7 separate regions of the Homo sapiens genome follow, and all the other regions are linked to region 7. The links are contacts of gene promoters, found by promoter capture Hi-C in blood cells and fetal thymus (Javierre and others, 2016). All regions are on one chromosome and are shown on one strand. Each heading gives the region's core, a stretch centred on a gene start or on the middle of the fragment in contact. The rest is flanking DNA. Distances are from core to core; before and after follow the strand shown.

Region 1 (3,649 bases), core at 845-3,344, 310 kb after region 7:
TAAAATTATACTCTAATGTACTGCACTAAACTACCCAAAAATATAATCCAATTTCAGCTGCTGCCATTTGAATATTTCTACAACTCTAAATTTCCAGTCAGCCAGGCATGGTGGCTCACACCTGTAATCCCAACACTTTGGGAAGCTGAGGGAGGGGATCACTGGAGCCCAAGAGTTTGAGATCAGCCCAGGCAACATGGTGAGACCACATCTCTACAAAAAAAATTGAAAATTAGCCAGGCGTGGTGGTACATGCCTGTGGTCCCAGGTACTCGGAAGGCTGAGGCAAGAGGATCACTTGAATCCACGAGGTAGAGGCTGCAGTGAGCTGCTGCGTTCACACAACTGCATTCCAGCCTGGGCAACAGATCAAGAGCCTCACGTTCGTTCATTCAATAATAAATAAATAAATAGCATATTTCTAGTCATCTTCCCCTCTTCCCTACCTCCAACTGCATTCCACTTCCATATTCTAATCCTACTGCTATCAAACTAATTCAAGCCCTTCTTAATATCTCCAGTAGCCACCTAACTGGTCTTTTTGTTTTCTAACTGGTCTTTTCACATACAATCTTACTCTACCACCACATTACCCGCAATCTACCCAGTAAGGTATAGCTATTGCCAGCTATCTAATATACGGTCCTTGGCTCAATTCTCTACTCAGAAAAGTTCAACAGCTATACACTAATGATTTCTGCTAACATACTTTAATCATATGTTAACATACTTTAATTCTCACATCCTCACCATAACCCTTGCCAGGAAAGTATGATTATCAATTTTATGAGAAAATGGAAACTCAGAAAGGAAATAATTCTCCATAATCATACAGTGGGTAAACAGAAGAGCCAAGACTAAAACCCAGCTTCTGTTTGCTTACCAAGCACAACACTACATCATATCAAATACAAACTACTTAGCTTAGCTTTCAAGGCCATCCATTTTCAACCCAACCCCAACTGACTCTCCTACCTTGTATTATACCTTATTCATGAACTCTCTGCGTTCCAAACTATAGATTGTGATTAATTATTTTGTCGGTCATGAAATCAGTTTAATGAGTGACAATCAGCTTTTTTTTCTTCCCCCTTGGCCAGCTTTTTTTCTTTTTAGTCAAACAAAATAGATAACATCCAACTGCACCTGCCACTGTTAAGGACAGTTACTGTATTATGAAACTTCTTGTTTTACCCACACACAAACATTCATACATGCATATATTAGATAGAAGTGTGACATGTATTTCTTACTATAGGTCATAGTTTAAAAATTAAAACCTAACTCACCATTCCCCACATCTCCTGGGCTTCTCACCTCCAAGCCTTTGCTTACGCTAATCTCTCAGGCAGGAATGCTCTCTTTCAGTAATCTTTGCCAATCAAAATCCTATCAATCCAAAACTTAAAAAAAAAAATCTTATCAATCCCTTCAAAGACTAGCTAAAATTCCACTTTTATGCCTTTAAAGTTCTGTCTCAGGTTTTCTCCTAATCAAATGCATTTTCTGCCTTTTAAATTCAGTAATATTTGGTATATTTGTGACTCACAGATATATTTGTGATTATAGTACAGGTATTTGTGCACAAGTCCAGCTGCCCTACCACAATATAAATCCCAAAGGTTTTATTCCTGACAGCAAAGCATTATATGCTTTTGCATATAACAAATGTGCATTATCTGTTAAATAAAGCTCATCCCATCATTTTCTGAAACCTTGTTATAAATCAACATAATTTAATAACTTCTACTATATTCCAAACTTCTGTTGACTCTTATCCTTCAAATAGCCTTACCATCTTCCTCCTCAAAACAGCCGTCTCAAATAATCCTCTTTACCCTCCATCTTCTCATGCTTTCCTCCAAAGATAGCCTGTCATATTTCAGTAATCTTTTCCCTCCTTCAGAATCATGCTTTCTATCAGATACCACCTTTCCTTCCCCATCTGCTTATCTTCTACCTTATTCCTAGTTCTCTAACACCGATACACATTGATCTATATTCTTTAAACAGATTTTTCTTTTCTTCATCATCTCTTTAACCAGATTTATTGAATTATTTCAATTCATTGCTAGTGCATATAGTTTGGCAGCCCTGTTAAGTCCTTTGTAGAAAAAGGCAGGTTATGAATAAATGAAAAAGAAACATAAAACATATAGACAATTCAGATCTCCTAAATTATCTCAAATATCTCATTCATTCATTCATTCATTCATTCAACAAGCTCGTGTCTACTGGACACATGCCCTCAGTTCTGTCTATTCTATTCCGTAATTCAGAAAGCAGCTTTGAGAAAAGCATGCAGGAAAATGCCAGGATAACAGGGCCAAGTTGACTCATGCTCTTCTCTCATGAAGGCCAAGTAATTTGTGGGGTACAGGCTCATAAAAGAACAACTAAAAGTTACACTATACGAAGACGGAAAACAGACCCCATAGTTGTTTCAGGGGGCTCAACATCTACCAACAAATGTGAATCTGAAAGGAACAAACCAGTAGGAGTAGCTAAAATGAAACAGGCAGAAAGCATTCAGACAAAAATAGATCCAGACTCTAGGTTCACTTTAGGGCTGCAAGAGGAATTTGGAGTCATTTAGTTCCTCTCTGAGATCCCTAAGGAATCTTTTCAAATATAAGTATGGTTCACTTAAATCATTTCACCAAACCTTAGCCAATGTTCATTTCTCCATTCCCTGAACTCCTACAGCACTTACTGTCTGTAAAACTCATTTGTGAACTTAAACTATCTTGCTCAAGGTAATAAAATTATTAACAAACATACTCAGAATTTATTTCATCTGAGAAAAATGAGTTTTTAAAAAATTTATTTACACATTCAAATCAGTATGGTCCTCTTTAAAATAAGTTACTTTGGAAGGCTACCACTTACTCATTTATTCACTCCATCCATCCAACCATCTGATGCACTCAACCAACATTTATGTAGTGCCTAACTAACTACATGTGAAGCTATCACCCCTGTTCAAAATATTTCCAACTTCCTCCTTGGGAGTGTTTTCAAAATCAGCTAATAAGTCAACCAAGAAAATTATTCCCGTTTCTGTGATTAACTGGATTTAAGGCAAAACTATTTTTCATTCACTCTATTTGATATTGACTAACCTTCAGCATTTCTAAAAATCAAAATTTCAAAGTAAAAAGATCTGTCATCAATAAGACCATTCAGAATAAGATTATACCATGTATTATTTAAAAGTGTGCCTCTTGGCCGGGTGTGATGACTCATGCCTGAAATCACAGCACTTTGGGAGGCCAAGGTGAGTGGATCACTTGAGGCCAGGAGTTCGACACCAGCCTGGCCAACACGGCGAAACCCCATCTCTACTAAAAAATACAAAAAATTGCCAGAAGTGGTGGTGCACGCCTGTAGTCCCAGCCACTCTGAGACTGAGGCAGGAGAATCGCTTGAACCTGGGAGGCAGAGGTTGCAGTGAGCCAAGATGGCGCCACTGCACTCCAGCCTGGGTGACAGAGAGAGGCTCCATCTCAAAAAACAAACAAACAAACAAAAGTGTGCCTCTTGGGCTCGGCGCAGTGGCTCACACCTGTAATCCCAGCACTTTGAGAGGCTAAGGCAGGCAGATCACCTGAGGCCAGGAGTTCGAGACCAGCCTGGCCAACATGGTGAA
Region 2 (4,102 bases), core at 557-3,056, 500 kb after region 7:
CCTCCCAGGTTCAAGTGATTCCTGTGCCTCAGCCTCCTGAATGGCTGGGATTACAGGCATGTGCCACCATGCCTGGCTAATTTTTGTACTTTTAGTAGAGGGGATTTTGCCATGTTGGCCAGGCTGGTCTCAAACTCCTGGCCTCAAGTGATCTGCCTGCTTTGGCCTCCCAAAGTGCTGGGATTACAGGCGTGAGCCACTGCACCTGGCCACAAGTAACAAATTCTATCTAAACCAGCAATGAAACACGAGGGCAACACAGACATTTCAGACACACATTTTCACATTCGCTTCTTACAAATCTTTCTGAGAAATTAATGGAGGATATATTCCAACAAAATGAGAGGCAACCAAGAAAGAAGAAACGGATACAGTAAACGGATTAGCCAAAGAGAATGCTAAAGGAAATACTGGTCCAGATTAGAGTGATGTGACTCAAGAGACAGACATACTGAAGACTGTCATCCACATGCTTCATGCTGCCATTGTATCATCTTTTCAAACCTCAGGATAAAATAGCCTAGTGAAACTGATCCCAAGTGTATCTGTATTTGGCTTGTGTTGACTATCTGCTGGTGAAGTTCTTAGTCTCCTCTCCATGTTCTGCTGTCTGGATTGGCTGAAGATGCTCATTTCCCCGAAAGAAGCCTTCTGACTTCAATCTATTCCTCAGAGTTGGAGGTAGGTCACAGTTTGCTTTGAAACTGAAAATACTGAGCAGCTCACTCCCCCAGCCCACATTCCTCCTGTAGCTGACTCACACCAAATGCTCTGGGATGTATATTTTACAGGACTCACAACTTTGCCTTATAATTTCACAAGAAAGGGCTCTTCTAAACTTTCTCAATAACTTATAAGAAGCTAAAGCCAGAGACTCAAATGTTTAACTTGTCTTTTTCTGGGAGCTGCTTTCTACAAATGGCAACACAGTCCTTTCCTTATGCTAAGCTTATGTTAGCTATTCATTTTTTCCTAAACATCATTATGGAGTACAAAAAAGCAGTAAAACTATAGCAAAAAGTAGAGGGATAATTAACACACAAGTCAAGTAAATTGTTTTATGGAGGAAAAAGTAGAGGACTATAAATTAGAGGGGAACTCAGAGATTCCAAGTTCAGGCAGTGTTCTACAACTTAATGTCAGAGGTAGATACATGGGTATTCATTTTATCTTTTTTCTTTGAATGTTTATATGTATACCATTCAGTCTTCTGTGTGTTTAACACATTTCATACACACAAAAATTAACTGAAAAAAGGAAGTAAAACAAAATTCCATATAAACTATGACAATGTGAAGAAAGATAAAAGTGAGAGCTCTGTTATGTTAGGGTAGTAAAATGATAGATTTTCTTTAGTTTTCTAAAATTTTGTGTTTATATAATTTCATAATATTATTTAAAAAGAAACAAAATGAACAGTAGGAAAATGCATATTACTTATTCACAACATGAAGGCTAGGACCATGGTTATCTTATTTGTTCCTGTCCCAAGACCTAGCACAGTGTCTGGAATATAACAGGGGCCCAGTAAATATTTGTTAATTAAGTGTTATTGTTAGATAAGAGGTAGCTGTGACTGCAGTTTAGTCACCAGGCTCTTTATTTTTATTTATTTGTTTATTTTTTTTGAGACAGAATCTAGCTCTGTCGCCCAGGCTAGAGTGCAGTGGCGCAACCTCAGCTTACTGTAACCTCTGCCTCCTGGGTTCAAGCGGTTCTCCTGCCTCAACCTCCTGAGCAGCTGAGATTACAGGCGTGCACCACCATGCTCGGCTAATTTGTTTTTAGTAGAGACGGGGTTTCACCATGTTGGCCAGGCTGGTCTCCAACTCCTGACTTCAAGTGATCCACCCGCCTCAGCTTCCCAAAGTGTTGGAATTATAGGTGTGAGCCATGGCACCCAGCCACCAGGCTCTTTAATATTGCCTGAAAAGTATCATTCCATTAAATGTTGTATAGATGTTCTTAATTTGTGGTTGGTTAATGTTAATGTAATATATGTGTAACACATACAACTTTCTTTTTTTTTTTTTTTTTTTTTTTTGAGACAGGGTCTCGCTCCGTTGACCAGGCTGGCAGTGGCACAATCTTGGCTCACTGCAACCTCCACTTCCCAGGTTCAAGCAATTCTTGTATCTCAGCCACATGGTAGCTGGGACTGCAGTCGTGCACCACCATGCCCAGCTAATTTTTGTATTTTTTGGTACAGACAGGGTTTCGCCATGTTGGCTAGGCTGGTCTCGAACTCTTGAGCTCATGTAATCCACCTGCCTTGGCCTCCTAAAGTGCTGCGATTACAGGCATGAGCCACCACACCCAGCCACATACAACTTTTTAATCAACAAGGTACAAATGTAGAGAAAGTATAGTATATGCACTTATTCATGCCATGAGAGAACTTCTACCATGTGGATTACTATCACAGCACACTTTTTTCAAATGCTCTTATGCCTCATAAACCTCAATGCTGCTCTTGTGCCTTATAAATGCAAATCTACTCAGGGACTGCAAACACCATGCTAACTAATACCAAACAACCCCTTCAGAAGACTATTCATTTTTAACCAATTTCACAACTATGAGGTCTTTTCTGAACCATTAATATGAAAATATTTCTAGAACAGAAATGATTCCCAGTTGAAATACTGAAGCTATATAAATAATGAAAGCTTTATGGGTTTCTTTATTAATTCCTAAAATGTCTGCTTCTTATGCTTTCTATTTAAGTTATATTTTCAGATGAACAGTTCGTTGGAAACAATGTTTTAAATCTACCTTCAATGGCATCAAAAAAATCTCCAATTGACATCTACCTCCTAAAGTCAATTTTGAAATTCCATACTAATGTAAAATTGTTTCATCAGTAATTCAAAGTAAATAATCCTACAGTAATAAATATTTGACATATATAGGTTTTGAACTTGATTGGCTTTTTAAATTAATGTCATGGATTAATTGTTAAGACAAATTAAGGCACACTAGTTAAACTGGGAACAGAGAAAACTGGCCTAAAATTAAAAACTACAGATTAGTGCTTCTCAAACTTTAATGTATATATGAATCGTCAGGGATCTTATTAAAATGCAGATTCTGGTCCACTAAGTCTGGGACTGGGGCCTGAGATTCTGCATTCCTAACAAGTTTCCAGGTGATGGTGATGCTACTGGTCTTCAGATCACACTTAAAGAAGCAAAGCTTTTGGCCAGGAATCTGCAAACTGTAGTCTTTGGGTTAAATCTGGCCTCCTGTTTTAGTAAATGAAGTTTTGTTGGAATACAGCCATGCCCAATCCAGTATATTGTCTATGGCTGTTTTTATACTACAAAGGCAGAGTTGAATAGCTACAACAGAGACCTATGTCCACATAGCTGCAAATATTTACTATCTGGCCCTTTACAGAAAAAGTCTGCAGACTCCTGTTATAGATAATACCCCAAATGTATGATCTGCATGTGGGAAGTAAGTGGAAGTGTCAATGCTTTTCATAGTTCTGTAGGATTACGTAATTTTCTCTACATTTTCCAGTATAGTATACCAATGGACTCTTTAATTTTGTTCTGAAACTCAAAGACAATTGGTATTACTTGCCAGACAACTTCCTGCTGCACAAGAAAGCCAGAAAGCCTTTTTTTTTAGTGATGGAGTCTCGTTCTGTTGCCCAGACTGGAGCGCAGTGGCACAATCTCAGCTCACTGCAACCTCCACCACCCAGGATCAAGCGATCCTCCCACCTCAGCTTCCCAAGTAGCTGGACTACAGGCCACCATGCCCGGCTAATTTTTGTATTTTTAGTAGAGACGGGGTTTCACCACATTGGCCAGGCTGGTCCCAAACTCCTGACCTCAAGTGATCCGCCCACCTCAGCCATCTCCTGAGACAGGGTTTTGCCACGTTGGCCAGGCTGGTCTTGAACTCCTGACCTAAAGTGATCTGCCCACCTCAGCCTCCTGAGTTGGGGTTTCACCACGTTGGTCTTGAACTTCTGACCTCAATTGATCCACCTGTCTCAGCCTCCTGAGACGGGTTTCACCTCGGCCTCCCGAGGAGAGTGGATCATTTGAGATCAGGAGTTCAAGGCCAGCTTGATTATAGGCATGAGCCA
Region 3 (3,911 bases), core at 306-2,805, 360 kb after region 7:
GGGCTGAAAAGATTCCACTAGATTTAGTGACCACCTAAATGACCTTGGTCACCATGATAAAAGCAGTGAGTGGCCGTGGTAAACTGGGTGTGGTGACCAGATATTATGGTAAATAATTAGGGGGTTTTGTTTGTATTTTTTAGACACAAGGTCTCACTCTATTGCCCAGGATGGAGCAATGACATGATCATAGCTCATCACAGCCTCAAACGCCTGGGCTCAAGGGATCCTCCTGCCTCAGCCTCCTGAGAGCTGGGTCTACAGCCATGCACCACCACACCTGGCTATTTGTTTTACTATTTTCTTTTGATTTTTGTAGAGACAGGTTCTTGCTACGGTGCCAGGGAGGGCTGGTCTCGAACTCATGGGCTCAAGTGGTCCGCCCCAAGCTTCCCAAAGTGCTGGGATTACAGATGTGCCCAACTGCACCTAGCCATAAAGAGTGAGTTAACTGAAGGTGAGAAAGCATTCAGTCTCATTTGACTTTTGACCCAGTTTGAGAATCATTGTCTTTTACTAGGCAAGTTTAACTCATCTACATTTATATTCATAATGGTTTTATTTGGGTTTGCTTCTTTCATTTTCTTTTATGCTTTCTAGTTTTTATATTCCCTTGCTCTTTCTTTTCTATTCTACGTTTTGCTGAGTAGATTCTTATATTTACCATTAGCTCCTGAGGTGAATTCGAGGGTAGACAGTCTGCTTTTAAATCTACTCAGTAGTGGAACCAGAATTTGCATCCAGGCAGTCCAGAGTCCACAGATTCTAGCTACTGTGCTACGCTGCCTTTCTTGCAACTCACAGCATCATAACAGACATGGAAAATTAATTTGTCCTTGGAAATAGTCACACCACATGGGCAATAATTTCACTTCCAGAAATATATCTTAAAGAGCCAATCAGAAAATTATGCACATAGGTACTCACTGCAGCATTAAAAAAGTTTTTTTCCACTCTGTCACCCAGGCTGGAGTTCAGTGACACAATCACAGCTCATTGCAGCCTCAACATCCTCAGCTCAAGCAATCCTCCTGCCTCAGCCTCCCAAGCAGCTGGGACTGCAGGTGGCTCGAGCCACCACGTTCACCTCAATTTTTTATTTTTTGTAAAGATGGTGGTCTCACTATGTTGCCCAGGCTGGTCTCGAACTCCTGGGCTCAAGTGATCCTCCCAACTCAGCCTCCCAAAGTGCTTGGATTAGGGTGTGAACCTCCTCCAGCCGGCATTTTTTAAAAATAGTAAAACAATGTAAATTTGCATAGATTTTCCTTTCTTAAAAAATACTGGCCGGGCGCAGTGGCTCACACCTGTAATCCCAGCACTTTGGGAGGTCGAGGTGGGTGGATCATCTGAGGTTAGGAGTTCGAGACCAGCCTGGCCAACATGGTGACACCCTGTCTCTACTAAAAATACAAAAAAAAAAAAAAATTAGCTGGGCGTGGTGGTGGGCACCTGAAATCCCAGCTACTCCAGAGGCTGAGGCAGGAGAATCGCTCGAACCCAGGAGACAGAAGTTGCAGTGAGCCAAGATCGTGCCATTGGATCGCAGCCTGGGCAACAAGAGTGAAATTCCATCTCAAATAAATAAATGAATTAATAAATTAATACATAAATAAATCAGCTGTTTCTCTTTAATGCTTGACTTGTCTTAGAGTCTGTGTTAATAGTTTTTTGCCTTGTTTGTGAATTTTGGTTGTAAATTGGTCATGGTCATTTAAAAGTTGATTGAAAAAATATATATGTTAAAATGTGTGCCCTGCTTGCTTCCTGGGCTGGCTATTTACAGCCCAGAACAGGACATGACATACAGGAGTGGGAAAGCAGAGTCCATCTGAAGGTGACAGAAGAAGCAGGCATTTTCCAGCACCAGGACCAAACATATTAAAAGACTAAGAGATTTGCTTCTAAGATGTCTGGCAATGAAGCACAAAGAAACACAGTAAGTTACATAATTTTTATTGTCCAATATGACAAAGAAATTCTAATTCTTCTGCGGGAGTAGTTTTATCTGGGATCTAAAAGTCAAGCAGGAATTTATTCTGTGTATCCTCCTGGAAAGGGTATTGAGGGACGCTAAAGACTCTCTTTAAACAATTGATAAAGAAATCCCATTAAACCCATTCGTGTGGATGGCCTCTATGAACTTGCCATCCAAGCTCACAGTGAGGCATCAGCTCCTAACCAGGGGAAGGCGTTTATGCCTCGCAGCTGAACGGGGGTTCGGGTGCGGTCTTCTGGTTCATCTGCAGAGCTCTGCCTCCAGCAAGGCCCTTCACATCCCGTGCTTCTCCAGCTTTGCACAAAAGCACCCTCACGTGAACACCAGCTGGGGGTGGGTGAGAAGAGGTTGTAGCCCAAAAAGGCCAGCTGTAAGCTAAAAATTTCTTTGAAAATTTGCAATTTATATTTAAAATTCATGTGAATTTTACAGTCTGTTTCATAATGTGTTTATAGATAAAAATGTGTTTTCCCCCTTAAAACTTCTAAAAAATTGGTGCTCCGGGTGGATGGGCTGTATTTACCCTATTTGAGTATCTCTCGGCAAGCTACCCTGGACCTCCCCACCTAATCCCCACCCTTCACAGACATACCATGATTTTAATTTGATGTTGAGCCAGACTCTCCAAGTCTAGATGAGTAAATTGCTTCTTTCCAATGTTATACGTCCTGGAATAGAAAGAACATCATATATTCTTCTAACATATAGAGAAGAGGGTCTACGTAAGCTTTGGTTGACAGGTGTTTTTGAAATTGCCTTGCGAACATTTGTGAGTAGGACTTCCTGTACAGACAGGGGTGACCACATTAGGCAAGAGCTAAAGGATCTTTTAAGCTCTAGGGCTCATGATTGGTCATGACCTACCTAAAGTCCCAGGGAGAGCATGTCTGGGTGGCAGGCACTTGGCAGGGCTGACCTCACTACAATCACAGGGCTCTAAATGAGAGGTTTGAAACCCCCCATTTGCCACAAGTTCCCTGAGAGAGCAAGCATCTCTAGGAACTTCTGCACATTGAATCATTTATCCTGGAAACTCAGTCCCTATTCAGTTGGCCCTTTCTCTGGCTAGGACTTTTGGCTTTCAAAAGTCCAGGGTGGGTTAAGGCAGCTCTAAATGGCAGAGGGCTGGTGTGCAACTCCTCTGGCTAGATTTAGGGCTGGGCCAGGCTGTCCATAGGTGTTTAAGGTTGGATGGAAGGCACAAGATCATTTGGGGAAAGATGTATTCTCCCGAAATTGGAGGTCACATCCTTCATGAGCAAGACTTGTAGAGTGCTGTCCGTGGGTGTGATGAAAGGGGGCTCATTAAGAATAACAAAGGGACCAGACTCAGTGGCTCATGCCTATAATCCCAGCGCTTTTGGAGGCCAAGGTGGGAGGGTCCCTTGAGCTCAGGAGGTCGAGACCAGCCTGGACAACATAGAGAAACCCCATCTCTTCAAAAATACAAAAATTAACCAGGCATGGTGGTGTGTGCCTGTAGTTCCAGCTACTTGAGAGACCAAGGCAGAGGGATTGCTCTAGCCCAGGAGGTCGAGGCCGCAGTGAGCCATGTTCGTTTGTGCCACTGCACTCCAGCCTGGGCAACAGAGCAAGACTCTGTCTCAAAAAAAAAAAAAAAAAAAAAAAAAAAGAAGAACAAAGGAAAAAGAAAAGAAATAAAGAATAACAAAAGACACTCCTGTTAGGAAACTCCAAGGGTTTTAGGTGTTCTGTGACAGGAATCTAGGCAAAGACCAAGGATACTCTATATTATACCACAGAACCCCCATCCAGAAATCCTTGGGGGTGGGAACAGGGGCAGCCCAACCTGTGGGACTTCCCTGAAGTGACGTCATTCCCGGACTAATACCCTGGTAAGAGGAGATCCTTCACCTAAGGACCTGGATCATTAAATGAGGCCCTCAGCAAG
Region 4 (3,976 bases), core at 232-2,731, 340 kb after region 7:
TCAAGGTTTCCTAAGGTCAGCACTGCAAAGAATATGGGTCAAGGAAATCAATGGCACTGGCAAAAGGGACAGACCTGTGGTCTAGCCAGAGAGGAGAGAAATCCCATTCAGAGTGCGGGAGCAGATGGGGCTAACGGGAGATAATAAAAGGGCCAAAACCTCAATACAACTGAAAACCAGGCACAGTGAGCAAAATGAAGTAAGAGAGCTGAAAGTTAGATAGTTGGGGTCAGAGATAGAAACGAATCACTTGGATGGGATGATCAGGGATGGAGAAGACCAGTAGTGAGCCCAGGAGAGAGATGATGTGGGCCTAAAAAACTACCCTTTATTAAGCCCCTATTTGTCCAGGCTTAACATGCTAAAAGCTTTACCTGTATAATCTCAGGTAATACAACTCTCAAAGGTAAGGCTTGTATCAGCATTATACAGAAGAGGAAACAGGCCAAGAGAAACTGCATACTTGGCTAAGCGCAGTGGCTCACGTCTGTAATCCCAGCACTTTGGGAGGCCAAGGTAGGCGGATCACTTGAGGTCAGGAGTTAGCCTGGCCAACATGGTGAAATCCCATCTCTACTAAAAATACAAAAATTAGCCAGGCATGGTGGCACATGCCTGTAATCCCAGCTGCCTTTTAAACAGAACCCTTAACTTTCTTTTTTTGAGTTGAAGTTTTGCTCTGTTGGCCAGGCAGGAGTACAGTAACACAATCTTGGCTCACTGCAACCTCCATCTCCCGGGTTCAAGCAATTCTTCTGTCTCAGCCTCCTGAGTAGCTGGGATTACAGGTACCCACCACCAAGCCGGGCTAATTTTTGTAGTTTTAGTAGAGATGGGGTTTCACCATGTTGGTCAGGCTGGTCTTAAACTCCTGACCTCAAGTGATCCACCTGCCTTGGCTTCCCAAAGTGCTGAGATTATGGCACGCCCAGATCTCTTTTTTTTTTCTTCTTCTTTTTTTCTTTTTTTTTTTTTTTTGAGACAGTTTCACTCTTGTTGCCCAGGCTGAAGTGTAATGGCGTGACCTCAGCTCACTGCAACCTCTGTCTCCTGGGTTCAAGCAATTCTCTTGCCTCAACCTACAGAGTAGCTGGGATTACAGGTATCTGCCACTACGCCTGGCTAATTTTTGTATTTTTAGTAGAGATGGGGTTTCACCATGTTGGCCAGGCTAGTCTCGAACTCCTGACCTCAGGTGATTCACCCGCCTTGGCCTCCCAAAGTTCTGGGATTACAGGCGTGAGTCACCGCACCTGGCCCCAGAGCTCTTAACTTTCTAAATAATTCTCCGATCTGTCTTCTGCTTTCATCTTTAACACACCTGCCTTAGTTTAGGCTCTGAGTGGCAGTATCACCTAGCACAGCGCAGTGCTTCTCAAACTTTGGCTGCTTCAGTTATCTGCAAGGCATATTGAAACACAAATTCTAGGCCCCACCCCAATTCGAGAACCCCAGAATATCTGATTCAGTAAGTCTTGGATAGGATCTGATAATGTGAATTTCTGTCAAATTTCCAGGCGTTGCTGATGCTGCTTGTTGCTGGTTGAGACCCAGTGGCCTAGAGGTTGATTTCAAATGTTACCCCTCTTATTTACTATATGACCTTCAGCAACTTATGTAGTTTCTTTTTTATTTATTTTATTTTATTTTTGAGATAGAGTCTTGCTCTGTCACCCAGGCTGGAGTGCAGTGGCACTATCTGGCTCACTGCAACTTCCACCTCCCAGATTCAAGCAATTCTCCCTGCCTCACCCTCCCAAGTAGCTGGGATTACAGGCGCCCACCACCACACCTGGCTATTTTTTTGTATTTTTAGTAGAGACGAGGTTTTGCCATGTTGTCCAGGCTGGTCTTGAACTCCTGACCTCAGGTGATGCGCCCGCCTTGGCCTCCCAAAGTGTTGGGATTACAGGCGTGAGCCACTGTTCCTGGTCCCAATTTATATGTTTTTAATTGCTTATGCTCTAAGTGTCGTATCTAAGAAATTATTGCCTAATCCAAGGTCAAAAAGATCTACACTGATTTTTCTTCTAAAAGTTTTATGATTTTAGCTCTTACATTTAGGAAGTTCATGATTTTGAGTTAATTTTTGTGTATGGTGATAGGTCAGATAATTCTTATGATTCCATGAGATGAATATTGCAGACTACAGGGCACATTGTAAGTGCTCAGGGACTGGTAGTTAGTATTATTATTGTATGATTTGTTTAAGGAAATCACCAATGTACAATAATCATTGAATAAACTTCACAGAAAGATCAATCTTACTTCTTCACGGTCATGTCTTCTTTGGGGGAAAAACCGTAACATGATCACCTAATTTGATTGTCCACCTTGCTCATCTCCTTGGTAACTTCTAGTTGTTTCCAAAAGGATGAAGACTTGCCACAGGTAGAGAATTCAAAGCAGAGGTTGGTCCCAAAGGCAGGCCTGGCACCATCCTGGGGAATGAGGTACCTCTGGCAGAAGCATAAAGCCTCCCAGGGTGACTGCAAAAGAGGAAAAAACATGCATTTTGGCATGGGTATTTTTCATGAAACATTATAGTTTCATCTTTGTGTTTCTATGTCCATGTGCATAAATATTTATTCACATAAGCTTTACACAGAGTTAATTAACTTCTAGGGATTTACCAAGGACCCAAGCGCTACAATTAAGTCATCAACCCAGCTACCCAAATATACCATATTTATTATCTGGATCTTCCGTATTCTCAGTGGTTCCATGCGAGTCTTCTCTTGGGAAGTCCTGCACCCTAAAATCTCAGTGTTTTTAATTGGGTGTGGAGACTGCTTTGCCGCATCGTATATTTGGCAAAGTCTGGAGATATTTTTGGTTGTTACATCTGAAGGGGCATTACTGGCATCTAGTGGGTGGAGGCCAGGGATGCTGCCAAACATCCTGCAATGCACAGAATACCCCCCATACAAACAATTATCCAGCCCAAAATGTCAACAGTGCCAAGGCTGAGAAACCCTGACTAGCTATATGTGAGTTGTCTATGCTTACACTTTGAACTAAGGCAGCAAGCTGTGATGGCTCTGAAATCAGAGAGACTGGGCTCAAATCCCAGCACTGTCACTTACTGCCTCTGTGACCCAGAGCAAGTTACTCCACCTTTCTGGGCCTTAGTTTCATCTGCTAATCACTGTAATATCTATCCATGTGTATATAAAATAATCTAATATACATAATAATCATCTAACATATTTTAAATCATCTTATGTGTAAACACACACACATGTGTCTGTGTTATATGCTGCCCAATGACTAGTACATATTAAATACTCAATGAATATTAGCTGACATTAATATAGGTGACAACAATATTATATAAAAAAAAAAACTTAGGGCCAGGCATGGTGGCTCACACCTGAAATCACAGCACTTTGGGAGGCCAAGGCAGGAGAATTGCTTGAGCTCAGGAGTTCAAGACCAATCTGGGCAAAATAATGAGACCCCCGTCTCCACTAAAAATAAAAAATATTTGCTGGGCGTGGTGGCACAAGCCTGCAGTCCCAGCTACTTGGAAGGTGGGAGGATTGCTGGGGTCAGGGAGATCAAGGCTTCAGTGAGCTATGATTGCACCACTGCACTCCAGCCTGGGCAACAGAGCAAGAACCTGTCTCAAATAAATAATACCTTAGTTTTTTTTTGTTTTGTTTTGTTTTGTTTTGTTTTTTTAAGTTGAGTTCATTGGCTGGGCACGGTGGCTCATGCCTGTAATCCCAACACTTTGTGAGGCCAAGGCAGGCAGATGCCTTGAAGTCAGGAGTTTGAGACCAGGCTGGCCAAAGTGGCAAAACCCCATCTGTACTAAAAATACAAAAATTAGTAGGGCATGGTGGTGCATGCCTGCAGTCCCAGCTACTCGGGAGGCTGAGGTATGAGAATCGCTTGAACCTGGGAGGCAGTGGTTGCAGTGAGGCGAGATCAGGCCACTGCACTCCAGCCTGGGCAACAGGGCAAGACTCTA
Region 5 (3,572 bases), core at 335-2,834, 400 kb after region 7:
TCCTGACCTCAGGTGATCCACTGGCCTTGGCCTCCCAAAGTGCTGGGATTACAGGTGTGAGCCACCGTGCCCAGCCCAATAATTTTTTTTTTTTTTAAAACGAAACCGGATGATACTGATTACACCAGAGAAATGTTGGCAAAATTTCTTATAATTCTATACAGTACATGGTTTTAATGGCTTACATCATTTTGTATCAAGATAATAATAAAAGAATTATAAAGTTACTCACAAATTATTCCCCTGTAAAAGGTTCAGCCGTCCTGAGTATTGTAACTGGAACTGATTCTACAGGAGTGAGTTACTCACTCAGAGTGAGTGCTTGTGAGGAACATTCCGTGTTGCTACAGTATCATCAGAGGCCAAAAGGAAAATACTCACCCCAGTTACCAGTTCCTCACACTGCTGCTTCTTGGATGCTAAGTCCTGAGCAGCCATCTCCAAGTCATACTGCATAAGTTCATGTTTCCTGCACACAGCCCTACAGATGAAAAAATGTGCTGCCATTTAACTTTTCCTTTAACATGTCAAACATTTTTTTCAAGGGTAGAGGAGAACCATTCACAATGTCTCGCTAGGGCAGAATGTGTGTGCCCAGAATTTTCAAGTTTAAAATGTAGTAGCCCAACATTAAAAATGGAATCTAATGGAATCTAGCAGAACCTAACCATAAAAACTTCATATATTCTTTTTTTTTTTTTTTTTTTTTTGAGACAGAGTTTTGCTCTTGTTGCCCAGGCTGGAGTGCAATGGCGCGATCTCGGCTCACTGCAACCTCCGCCTCCCGGGTTCAAATGATTCTCCTGCCTCAGCTTCCCTAGTAGATGGGATTACAGGCATGCGCCACCACACCCAGCTAATTTTGTATTTTTAGTAGAGATGGGAATTCTCCATATTGGCCAGGCTGGTCTCAAACTGCTGACCTGAGGTGACCCACCCACTTCGGCCTCCCAAAGTACTGGGATTACAGGCATGAGCCACCTGTACCCGGCCAAAAACGTCATATATTCTTAACACAAAAAAAGTTGTTTTCCATATACTTGGAACATTTCTTTCAATAAACATGCCATTATCACATACATAAAACATTTTTTAATGTATGTGAGAACTACATACATAATGTATACATATGTATACATAATTACATACATAATGAACTACATACATAATTAGTTCTTACATAATGTAAGAACTAATGCTGTAATCTCACATAGCAACTGAGTATTCTTAGAAAAGATAATACCTCAAAGTTTTCTTCTTTGTGATTTAGAAATGTCTATTAGGTATTTTTTTTTTTTTTTTTTTGGAGACAAGGTCTCACTCTGTCACCCAGGCTGGAGGGCAATGGTGCAATCTCGGCTAAATGCAACCTCTGCCTCCTGGGCTCAGGCAATCCTCCCACCTCAGCCTCCTAAGTAGCTGGGACTAAGGCATGTGCCACCATATCCAACTAATTTGTGCTTTGTAGAGATGGGGTCTCGCCCATGTTGCCCAGGCTGGTCTCAAACTCATGGGCTCAAGCAATCCATCCACCTCAGTTTCCCAAAGTGCTAGGATTATATGCATGAGCCATGTCGCCTGGCCTAGAAATGTTTATTAGTTTTTATGATCATAAAAGTAATCCATGTTCACTGTAAAAAGAAAAGATTCGGATGGGCGCGGTGGCTCATGCCTGTAATCCCAGCACTTTGGGAGGCCGAGGCGGGTGGATCACGAGGTCAGGAGATTGAGACCATCCTGGCTAACACGGTGAAACCCCGTCTCTACTAAAAATACAAAAAAAGCCGGGAGAGGTGGCAGGCGCCTGTACTCCCAGCTACGCGGGAGGCTGAAGCAGGAGAATGGCGTGAATCCCGGGGGGCGGAGCCTGCAGTGAGCCGAGATCACGCCACTGCACTCCAGCCTGGGTGAAAGAGCGAGACTCCGTCTCAAAAAAAAAAAAAAAAAAAAAAAAAAAAAAAGAAAAGAAAAGATTCTAATACAGCAATGCACAAAGTAAAAAAAAGAGGCTGGGCATGGTGGCTCATGCCAGTAATCCCAGCACTTTGGGAGGTCGAGGTGGGCAGATCACCTGAGGTCAGGAGTTCAAGACCAGCCTGACCAACATGGTAAAACCCCATCTCTACTAAAAATACAAAAATTAGCCGGGCATGGTGGTGCATGCCTGTAATCCCAGCTGCTTGGGAGGCTGAGGCAGGAGAATCACTTGTACCCAGGAGGCAGAGGTGGCAGTGAGCAGAGATTGTGCCACTGTACTCCAGTCTGGGCAACAGAGTGAAACTCCAACTCAAAAAAATAAAAAAAACAAAATACAACAAGAAAGTTCAAGAACACTCTCTTTCCTCCAATCCCACTATCCAGATATAATCGGTGTTACCAGATAGTATATAATCTTTCAGAATTTAGCTAGGCATTGACAAATACCATATCCATGCACCCCAAATGGTTCCTACATCTTTTCTCAAATGGCTATACACCCTGGCCATCTTTCCATGTCAACATACATTAATCCCTTTTATAATTTTTAAGAGCTGCAGAGAATTCCACTGTACTCAGCAACTTTCTTTTTTGAGACAGAATCTCACTCTGTCACCCAGGCTGGAGTGTAATGGTGCGATCTCGGCTCACTGCAACCTCCACCTCCCCTGTTCAAGCAGTTATTCTGCCTCAGCCTCTCCAGCAGCTGGGATTACAGGCACCCACCACTATGCCTGGCTAACTTTTTTGTAATTTTAGTAGAGACGGGGTTTCACCATGTTGGCTAGGCTGGTCTCGAACTCCTGGCCTCAGGTGATCCATCCGCCTTGGGCTCCCAAAGTGCTGGGATTCAGGCAGGAGCCACCTCACCTAGCCAACTTTCTTTTGCTTGGTGACTTGAAAATACATTGGTGAGACTTCCTACTACTCAAAGCCCTAGAAGGAAAACGAGCTAACAATGTGCAGATGATTTCACACCAATCACCACAGAGGTAAGGGAATAGTGCTCTTGTTTTCCTAACAGAATTCTTATACTGCTTTTAAAAGCGACAGGACAGTGTTGGCTCATGCCTGTAATCCCAGCACTTTGAGAGGCCGAGGCGGGTGGATTACCCGAGGTCAGGAGTTTGAGACCAGCCTGGCCAACAACGGTGAAACCCTGTCTCTACTAAAAATACAAAAATTAGCTGGGTGTGTTGGCGGGCGCCTGTAATCCCAGCTACTCAGGAGGCTGAGGCAGGAGAATAGTTTGAACCCGGGACGTGGAGGTTGCAGTGAGCCGAGATCACGCCACTGCACTCCAGCCTGGGTGACACAGCCAAACTCTAGTCTGTCTCAAAAAAAAAAAAAAAAAAAAGTGACAGGACAACTGACCAAAAGCCACCTATTCTGGGAAAATAATTCCTTTTTCTAAACTGATCAGAAAAAAATATATTAACTTTTTCCTAGTCACGTAGGACTATCTAAAAGAGAATTCCCTTTGGCTCTGTAAAAGATAACATAAGAACAGATAAGAAAGTCCTTGTTACATAAGGACGTTGTACAAGCTACTGATAAGACACACAGAATAAAAATAGCAATATACAACATAGTAA
Region 6 (3,809 bases), core at 1,212-3,711, 380 kb after region 7:
GCTCTGGGGCTTTGGGAATTGGACTTGGAGGTGCTGGAAGGACAGGAACCAGCTCTGGCCTGGGGTGAGCTGGTCCTGTTTAGTTAGAAGGGAGACTTGTGGCATCACTGAGTGGCCATTTTGGTTTTTGCTGGCAACTGCAGTGAGGGACAGCCTCTCACTTCAAGGTGATGCCAAGAGTTCTTGGAGCTCCTTCTCCTGAATCATGGGGAGAACTGGCTCAAGCTGGTTGGGGCCTGGCTTGTGACCCATTGTGTGTGCATGAGTTCAAAGAGCTCAGTCTCCAAAACTCTGTGGCCATGGAGCCCAGGCTAGGTCTAGGCTAACTACAACCGTGCAGAGGAGTCCTTGTCCCCATTTTGAGCCCCGAGAAACCACTGTGGCATGAGAGGCAGGTCTCAGTAGCCTGGAAGCTTCCTGCGGAGACAAGGTCCCCGCCCTCAAGACAGTTCCCAAGTGGACATGGTGCACTATTGGCCAACTGCTTGTTGGCCGCAGCCACGACAAAGAGTGGCCTTTTAGGCCTCTTTGTTTCTTCTCAGGGAGGTGAAGTAACCATGACTAGGAAGCACCCAGGGTTCCCTAGATTGACTATGGGAGGAGTTCCAGTGAGGACTTTTTTTTTTTTTTTTTAACAGAGACCACTCCTTGTAAAAAGGACATTTTAAATAATTAGTGTGTTGGGAACATGGAGTCACTTCTTTAGACCTTAAAAAATAATTTGTTGTTTTCATTCAAGTGGGTAAAGCAAGCTATTTGGTTATTTAAGAGAACTAGCCTATGATCTTATGGGACCACCAGCAATAACATTCCATGATTCTGTGAGATGTCCCAGATCCCTTACTCCATTGAACAATAGCCAACGTTATTTACCTAGCACATACCTACCAGGCACACTTGACATGCATTTATTGTCATTATTGTATCTAATATAACATTTCTTTTTTCTTTTTTTTTTTTTTTTTGAGGTAGGGTCTTGCTCTGTCACCCAGGCTAGAGTGCAGTGACGCAATTTTGGCACACTGCAACCTCCACCTCCCGGATTCAAGTGATTCTCCTGCCTCAGCCTCCAGAGTAGCTGGGACTACAGGCATGCGCCACCACGCCCAGCTAATTTTTTGTATTTTTAGTAGAGATGGGGTTTCACTGTGTTGGCCAGGCTGGTCTCGAACTCCTGACCTCAAGTTATCCGCCTGGCTCAGCCTCCCGAAGTGCTGGGATTACAAGTATAAGCCACCACACCTGGCCAATTGTATCTAATATAATAGTTCTGCAAAGCAGGTGCTATCCACACTTTGCCCTGAAGAATCTGAGGCTCAGTAAAGGTAAGTAACTGACAAGTCATGGAACTTGTAAGAGGTGGAGCCAGGAGTCCAACCAGGCCTGAATGTGACTTCAGAATCCCCTGATTTGCAGCCTAGAGCCTCAGTCTTGGCTACTGTTCTAGGACCAGCCCCACCTGGAGGTCCCTAACTCTGGTGCCAGTCAGGAGCTCACCTTTGTGCATGGAGCAGAGGGACCCTCCCTTCAGTGTGAGGACAGGGCACTGGGAGGCAGTCAACTCATGCCTGGGACACTGCTGGGGGAGGGCTAGGGGGAAACACTGGTCCATCCAGGCAGAACCAAAACATGGTAGGATGTTTTAAAAGTCCTTTTCAATTGCTGGGCACGGTGGCCCACATCTGTTATCCCAGAGCTTTGGGAGGCCGGGGGAAGAGGACTGCTTGAATTCGAGACCAGCCTGGGCAATACAGTGAAACCCCATCTCTACAAAAAATGAACAAAACTAGCCAGGTGTGGTGGCACGTGCCTGTAGTCCCAGCTACTCAGGAAGCTGAGGCGGAAGGATGGCTTGAGCCCAGGAGGTGGAGGCTGCAGTGAGCTATGATCCTGCCACCACACCCTAGCCTCGGTGATAGAGCGAGATGCTGTCTCAGACAAAGAAAAAAAAAGGCCTTTTCATATTCCAATTCCATTGAAATACAATACCCACAACATGGTGAAACAATTTGAATGTATGTTCAAATGGTTTGAAAAAGATGCTGCCCAGCAAGAGTGGAAAATGGACAAGCAAAGCACCAGTGTTTGTACAGACAGGAACGCTAAAAAAAAGGAAAGGGGAAGAGTTTAAAAAATAAAACCTTCTTTTTTTTTTCTAAAGTGGAGCAGAAAAATCTCAAAATGTGATGGGGAGATTGAAGAAAAGAAAGAGGCACGTCCTTCCTCCCAGGCTGGAAGATTGAAGGGTGCCTGGATAGATGGTGAATCTGAGATTCTCTCCAGAACCAGGAATGCCCACCTATGCCCCCTAGAAGGGTATATTCGAATCTCCTGGGGACCATTCACTGCCCACCAACATCCCACTCTCTAAATTTCTTGCCTCAAATTCTGATACGCTTTCCCAGTTGAAGGTCTTCCTATAGCTTTGATTACTGCTAGGAGTGTGCTAGTGCAGAGGGCAGAGGCAGCAAAGAATGGGCAGAAAATCAGGGAGAATTGCCCAAGTGTGGGTGACTTAGAAAAAGAGATTTTCCCCTGAGGAATTATATTGATGAAATCTAGGCTTGAAAGGTCCAAGTTCAAAGGTCTGCTTACTTTATTATCGTTTTACCCAGAGGAATGTGCCTGTTAGGTTAATATTTATTTTATTGAATAATCTAGTTTTAGTTACTGTCAATAAAAGTCAGCGCTACTTTTTATAGGAAAAAAAGGCAGTTTTGTGGCTAATTTCAGATCTCAGAGAGGTTGTTCCTGGGCCCATTGGCTCTACCGCCACCTGGTGGTAGATTCCTGTAGAACAGGGCTGGCCATTTGGGTTTCGGACCAGAACCCAAGTCTGAGAGGTTGGAATCCTGATCTGCTCACCCAGTAGCAGGGTGACCAGTTGGACAGACTTCCTCTCTCCCTGAATTTCAATTCCCATATCTTAAAATAGAGACCATAATATCTACTTTTGGAGTTTGTCGTAACAATCAAATGAGTTAACATATATGTAGTGCCTAGTGCATAGTAAATGTTTAATAAACTATTAACTATTAGCCTCATTGAAAAAGAACTTGATATCCCCATGGGCTTGTTTCCAGTGGTTTGCCATGGAGTTCTGTTCTCACTATTTCCATAACTGACTGGAGCAAAGCTACAGAAGACACGGCCCCTGCATCATGGCCGACACTCTGCTGGTCAGAGGCTGGGAGAGACTTACGGTTTGGAGGGACGGGCCCAATCTAACGGATTAAATTGTAAGAGGAGTAATGCAAGTTCCAAATGACACATAAAGTCTGCCAAGTGCACACATATTGGGTGAGGGACAAAAAAAAAAAAAAAGACCAAGTCAAAAACACTGAGGGATTTTGGGAACAGATAGCTCAACAGGAGCCAATTGGGTGACACAGGCACCAAAAATTCTAATTTCATCAACAGCCATGAAGGAACAACATATATGAAAAGTCTTTAAAATGTTCATACAGCCTAACCTTGTAATTCCACTACAAGAAATCTACCCAGAGGAGGAAATCATCAGAAACAATTGCATACAAAGATGCTCACTTCAGTGTGGTTTATAAAAATGAAAAATTAGAAACAATGTCCAATAATAGACAAAAAGTTAAATTGTGGTTTATCCATGCAGCCCTTTAAATTTTTCAAAGGGAAATGCACATGAAATAAGTTGAGGGGGGTGGTGAGAATCGGGCTCTCATTACAAATAGAGGACACATTGATAAAAGGCAGAATTAGATAAGATATAACAAAAGCCTATATGCAGCTGATAAGATAGCTTCAAAATTTATAATGCAAAAACTGACAACCCT
Region 7 (4,041 bases), core at 877-3,376:
CTACCTCTCTCTAGAGATCCCGCCCCTAAGAGAAGGAAAGAGACTCATGTGCCTGCCCCATCCAGCCAGGGCCCCTGCAAGTCAGTGTCCCTCCCACCTATCCCCTAACAAGATGGAGGCCATTCAGCTAAGACAGCCTGACTACTACCCAGAGAAATCTGCCTTCGGCTCTTGGGTGTCTCCTCTGAAATGTTCTCAGTTCTCTGCAGTTCACCTTCTGTTTAGAAAAACTCACAAAATACTACACAGTGTTCCTCAGTTACTTTCCTAGTTGGAGAAAGTCGGGAAATATGTTGTTTTATGTTCTTGATTCCTTCCCGTGGAAGTTAGCAAAACAGCGTATGCTGTAAGTAATCTAAAGTCACAGTCACTCCGGGATGTGTCTCCTACACGTCTTCAGAAGCTTATCTCTCCTCTCCCTTTTCTTACTGTTCCTCGGTTTCTCAATCTTATGCCAGTGATTTAAAAATTCACAAAATAAGGCATTTTGCGATAATGGGAATACTGTTGAATATGAAATTGAGTTTTTACAGGAGAACTTGATTTTTAAAAATCCAAACTTTTTCTTATTTAACTCTAAGAAGCACCTCTAGGTTGGAGGAAGCAAGCTAATTCACGTGCCAGAAAGTCTGCATGAGATGAGAAACTTAAATGAATTGTCAATTATGCAGACAAAAAACTCAACTTTCAGGGAAACTCCAAATCAATGTCCAGTGTTGCAAGCAACCCAGCTTATTTGAATAGCCCGGACAGAGCATATGCCCTGTGTCACTCACAGGAAGGCAAAGGCTAACACCACCACGTTGCTGACTTTGTTCAAAGCACTTTCCATTTATTTTTACTTTCATTTTGTCACATCATCACTAGGAGGCTAGAAGGAACAGGGATCATCACTTTCATTTCACAGATGGAGAAAGTGAGCGCAAAGAGACAGCAGTCCCAAGGTCATAATGGTATTATGGTTAGAATTCCACTCAGTATGTGGCATATTTTTCCAGATCATAAGAAAGAACTGGACACAAAGGTAGCAGGGAGAAGAGGTCAGTTCCTTCTCTCTGCGTGGGACAGGCGGTGGCTACCACGGAGCAACAGTTCATTGGGAAAGGAAAGGGGAGGGAGGAGGCTCAGGGATGGTCCTGTATCAGCCTGTGCCTTGCAGGGGTTCAACCATGCAACCCCAACCGCGTTCCTTTGCTTTTAAGTCGAACCAGTAGAGCGTTTTGTTTCAAACTACGTACATCCTTTGTCCTTTACAATATCCCGTCCTAGAACCCCTTAAAAATCAGTTATTTAGATGAGAAAGTCGAGCCCTGTACCTGGAGAGGCCAGTTCTGTATAGCGGAAAAAATGAAACTGGGGACCGGCTGGCCAGATATCGGAGGTGGGAGAGATGCTTTGCAGTCTTTTTCCCTTTCCTTTCCATTTTTTTTAAAGTGGGGTGGAAGAGATACAGGGTACCCCATAGGAAATAAGTTTTCTTCCAAAGGGTTGGAGGAGAACGGGATAGTCACACCCCTCAGTCCAGCCAACTGCGAAAGCGTCCCTCCCTACCCGCCGACCCTCAGGGTCCCGCACACGCCGGGCGAGGAGCCCCCACCCTGGGTCGCGCCGCGCGGAGGGGCCTACGGCTGGGGATGCAGCCCGGGGCGCGCCCACGCCCCCAGCACAGACTGGCCAGGCGCCAGGTTCCCGGCTCTCACTCACCCGCGCTCCCGCCTCTGGGGGCCCGGCCGGAGGGTCCCCGCTGTGTCGCGGCGCCTGGCTCAGGGGCCCTGTAGCTGGGGCCGGGGGTCGCGGGCCCGCGGCGCTCCCGGGGCGGCGTGGGCGGCGGCTCGCGCTCCGGGCGGCGCTCCAGCTGCAGCTCCAGCCCCGCTCCCGCGAGGGGCGCCAGGCTCAGCGCGCGGCGAGCCGGGGAAGGCGGCGGGTCCCGCGTCCCGGGGGCCGCCGGCGGCAGCAGCAGCAGCGGCAGCAACAGCAGCAGGAGCGGCGGCGGCCACCGCGAGGCGCGCGGCGAGGCCATGGTGACGGCGCCCGCCCGCGCTCACATGCCCGGCGCGCGGGGCGAGGGCAGCGGGCAGCGGGCAGCGGGCGGCGGGGGCCGCGCGGGGCCGGGGAAGTGAGCGGAGTGAGGCTGCGAGCGCGCTCCCCGCCTCAAAAGTTATCGGGAGCCGCGGGAGGGCTGCCGGGGGCCGGGCTGGCTGGGCGGAGGCGGCCCGCGGCGCCGCTACATGCTAATTAGCCCGGGCGGGTCGCTGGCTGGCGGGCGGCTCCTCCTCAGTTGACATCACCGGCCCCGCGCGGCGGGCCCGGAGGCGGGGAGAGGGCAGGAAGGGGGCTGGGGCCGGGCGCCTGGAGAGCGGCCCGGCCCGGGACAGCGGGATGAGGTCAGCGGAGCCACGGTGCTGCAACTTTTGTCACACACATGCTCCAGAGTCTTCTGAATCGGGCACCACCTACCCAACTCCTTAAACGCACAAGAAGTAGGTGAAAAGCAGGTCCTGGGTAATGTGATTAGCACCAGACTAGATTATCCCAAGTGCTTTGATAGGAGAGAGAAAGGGAACGGTCCCCTGGTACCCAGCCCGCGCTGTCACCGCCGTTATTGATTTGAAGTGTCCCCACTCCCACCCCCACCTCCCCTTCTTCAGGCCCCAGGGCTGGTGATGAGCTCGTGTTTGCCAAACCTAACACCTCACCCTCCGGCCAACGCGAGAATCCGAGTATCCCCCACGCCCTCTCAAGCTTGGATGCCGTTCCCATCCGACCACTGCCTTTGGCTCACACCAGAGTTCTGCAGAGATGTCACCGCGAGGACACCCAAACAGGCTGCAGGGAAAAGAAAACTGTGAATTCAGGCAGGCTAGGGCAAACTCATCATCAGGAAAAGAACTGCAGATCGCAAATTAAACCAAATGATGCCCAGAGAACACAGAATTTTAAATGGAAACCTATGGGGAAAGATTCAAAGATTTCATGTAAACAAATTTTCTTGGTCAATAAAGTTCCATTTGTTTCCATAACCTCTCCCTCCCCAGTAAATGAATAATAAACTGTCTAAAGTTTAGGACTGTAAGCCACCTCATTAAGTGAAGAAAGAGGGGCTCAAATGGGAAAATAACTTGCTCAAGATTCTGAAGGTAGACCCGAAGACGAAATGATTGATCTGTGAATGACCATGTGATATTATTAATTCTGGTCTCCTAATTCAGAGTTTGCAATAATTCGCAAACGGAAACAAATAGTATTGCAACAGAAACAAATGTTGCAGCTCCTTGGGGTTCTTGCGAGTTCTGTTGGGGGCCCCTGTCTGACAACCAAATGCTCGTGAAAATATGAGTATGCACCTCACTGTCAGGCCTGGCTCTCCATCCTATTTCTCTGCTCTTCTCTTTTTCTCTGTCTCCAGATCTCCATGACCCACCTCCAGGAGAATGAGATCGTAGTGTCCAGGGCAGCTGCAGATGGGCCTAGGCCCACTTTCTGGTGACTCAGTACAAGTGAGTCATTTGGCAGAAAAACATAAAGGAGGCTGTGTATAAACAAACTCACCTTAAATGAGAGAATGAGGAGTAAAGATTTGGTTTTATTTTGTTTTGTTTTTAAACAAACCAGCTTTCCAGGGCTCTAACACAGAACTTCCAGGTCTCTCCAAGAAAGTACCAAACAGTAATCTCCCTGAAACTGACTTGGTTTGCTCCCATGGCCTGAGCTTAACTTCTCTGGATGCTGCTCTCACATTAACAGGCAGGACTGCACAGCTGCCCAGACCCAGCCAGACAAGCCCCAACAGACTAGGACTGTGCTCAGAGGTTCTGGTCACTGCCACTCCCTCCCCTCCAAGGAGACCATGTCACATAGTACTGGTTGCACTCCCAGGCAAGTGGAAAGGTTTAAGGGTAGAATGGCCCTTACAGGCTTCTCGTGTGGATTCAGGGATCCTATGAGATAATCTGCCTTCTCTACTAAGACCCAAGGAGTAAACATGTACCTGCCACCTCCCCCCAATCCTCCCCCACCCCCCAATCCCACCCCACTTTAAGT

What was found. Contacts are between HindIII fragments. The CHiCAGO score rates a contact against its expected background, and 5 or more counts as called.
Region 1: a contact is called between a fragment that was not itself captured here and the fragment with the promoter of HEG1 in region 7, in 3 of 17 cell types (naive CD8 T cells, activated CD4 T cells and total CD4 T cells). The highest score is 7.2, in naive CD8 T cells.
Region 2: a fragment that was not itself captured here is called in contact with the fragment with the promoter of HEG1 in region 7 in 1 of 17 cell types (erythroblasts); the score reaches 5.1 in erythroblasts.
Region 3: a contact is called between a fragment that was not itself captured here and the fragment with the promoter of HEG1 in region 7, in 2 of 17 cell types (naive CD8 T cells and megakaryocytes). The highest score is 5.1, in naive CD8 T cells.
Region 4: a contact is called between a fragment that was not itself captured here and the fragment with the promoter of HEG1 in region 7, in 4 of 17 cell types (activated CD4 T cells, total CD4 T cells, naive CD4 T cells and 1 more). The highest score is 7.5, in activated CD4 T cells.
Region 5: a fragment that was not itself captured here is called in contact with the fragment with the promoter of HEG1 in region 7 in 2 of 17 cell types (naive B cells and total CD4 T cells); the score reaches 5.6 in naive B cells.
Region 6: a contact is called between a fragment that was not itself captured here and the fragment with the promoter of HEG1 in region 7, in 7 of 17 cell types (total CD4 T cells, naive CD4 T cells, activated CD4 T cells and 4 more). The highest score is 7.6, in total CD4 T cells.

What each region holds. Positions count from the first base shown.
Region 1 is chr3:125,365,437-125,369,085 of GRCh38, forward strand. All of the region lies in intron 1 of ZNF148 (zinc finger protein 148), which reads right to left. Among named protein-coding and RNA genes, the nearest start is that of ZNF148, 8.1 kb to the right of the region's middle. RefSeq lists enhancers at 2,968-3,468, 3,469-3,649. The HindIII fragment of the contact is 4,992 bases long and covers 1-3,649 here.
Region 2 is chr3:125,555,772-125,559,873 of GRCh38, forward strand. The region is part of intron 8 of OSBPL11 (oxysterol binding protein like 11); the gene reads right to left. Among named protein-coding and RNA genes, the nearest start is that of SNX4, 38 kb to the left of the region's middle. The HindIII fragment of the contact is 1,721 bases long and covers 947-2,667 here.
Region 3 is chr3:125,412,597-125,416,507 of GRCh38, forward strand. It overlaps LOC105374081 (a long non-coding RNA gene), which reads right to left. Exons shown (of 3, transcript XR_924428.4): 2 at 2,592-2,667; 3 at 2,243-2,326. Among named protein-coding and RNA genes, the nearest start is that of ZNF148, 39 kb to the left of the region's middle. The HindIII fragment of the contact is 2,337 bases long and covers 388-2,724 here.
Region 4 is chr3:125,389,683-125,393,658 of GRCh38, forward strand. No RefSeq gene overlaps it. Among named protein-coding and RNA genes, the nearest start is that of ZNF148, 16 kb to the left of the region's middle. The HindIII fragment of the contact is 2,230 bases long and covers 367-2,596 here.
Region 5 is chr3:125,456,885-125,460,456 of GRCh38, forward strand. It overlaps SNX4 (sorting nexin 4), which reads right to left. Exons shown (of 14, transcript NM_003794.4): 11 at 382-481. Among named protein-coding and RNA genes, the nearest start is that of SNX4, 62 kb to the right of the region's middle. The HindIII fragment of the contact is 5,987 bases long and covers 1-3,572 here.
Region 6 is chr3:125,435,215-125,439,023 of GRCh38, forward strand. No RefSeq gene overlaps it. Among named protein-coding and RNA genes, the nearest start is that of ZNF148, 62 kb to the left of the region's middle. The HindIII fragment of the contact is 4,100 bases long and covers 412-3,809 here.
Region 7 is chr3:125,053,871-125,057,911 of GRCh38, forward strand. It overlaps HEG1 (heart development protein with EGF like domains 1), which reads right to left and starts at 2,127. Exons shown (of 17, transcript NM_020733.2): 1 at 1,705-2,127. The coding sequence starts at 2,020. RefSeq lists silencers at 1,621-1,780, 1,841-1,930, 2,011-2,390 and an enhancer at 2,641-2,690. The HindIII fragment of the contact is 2,339 bases long and covers 402-2,740 here.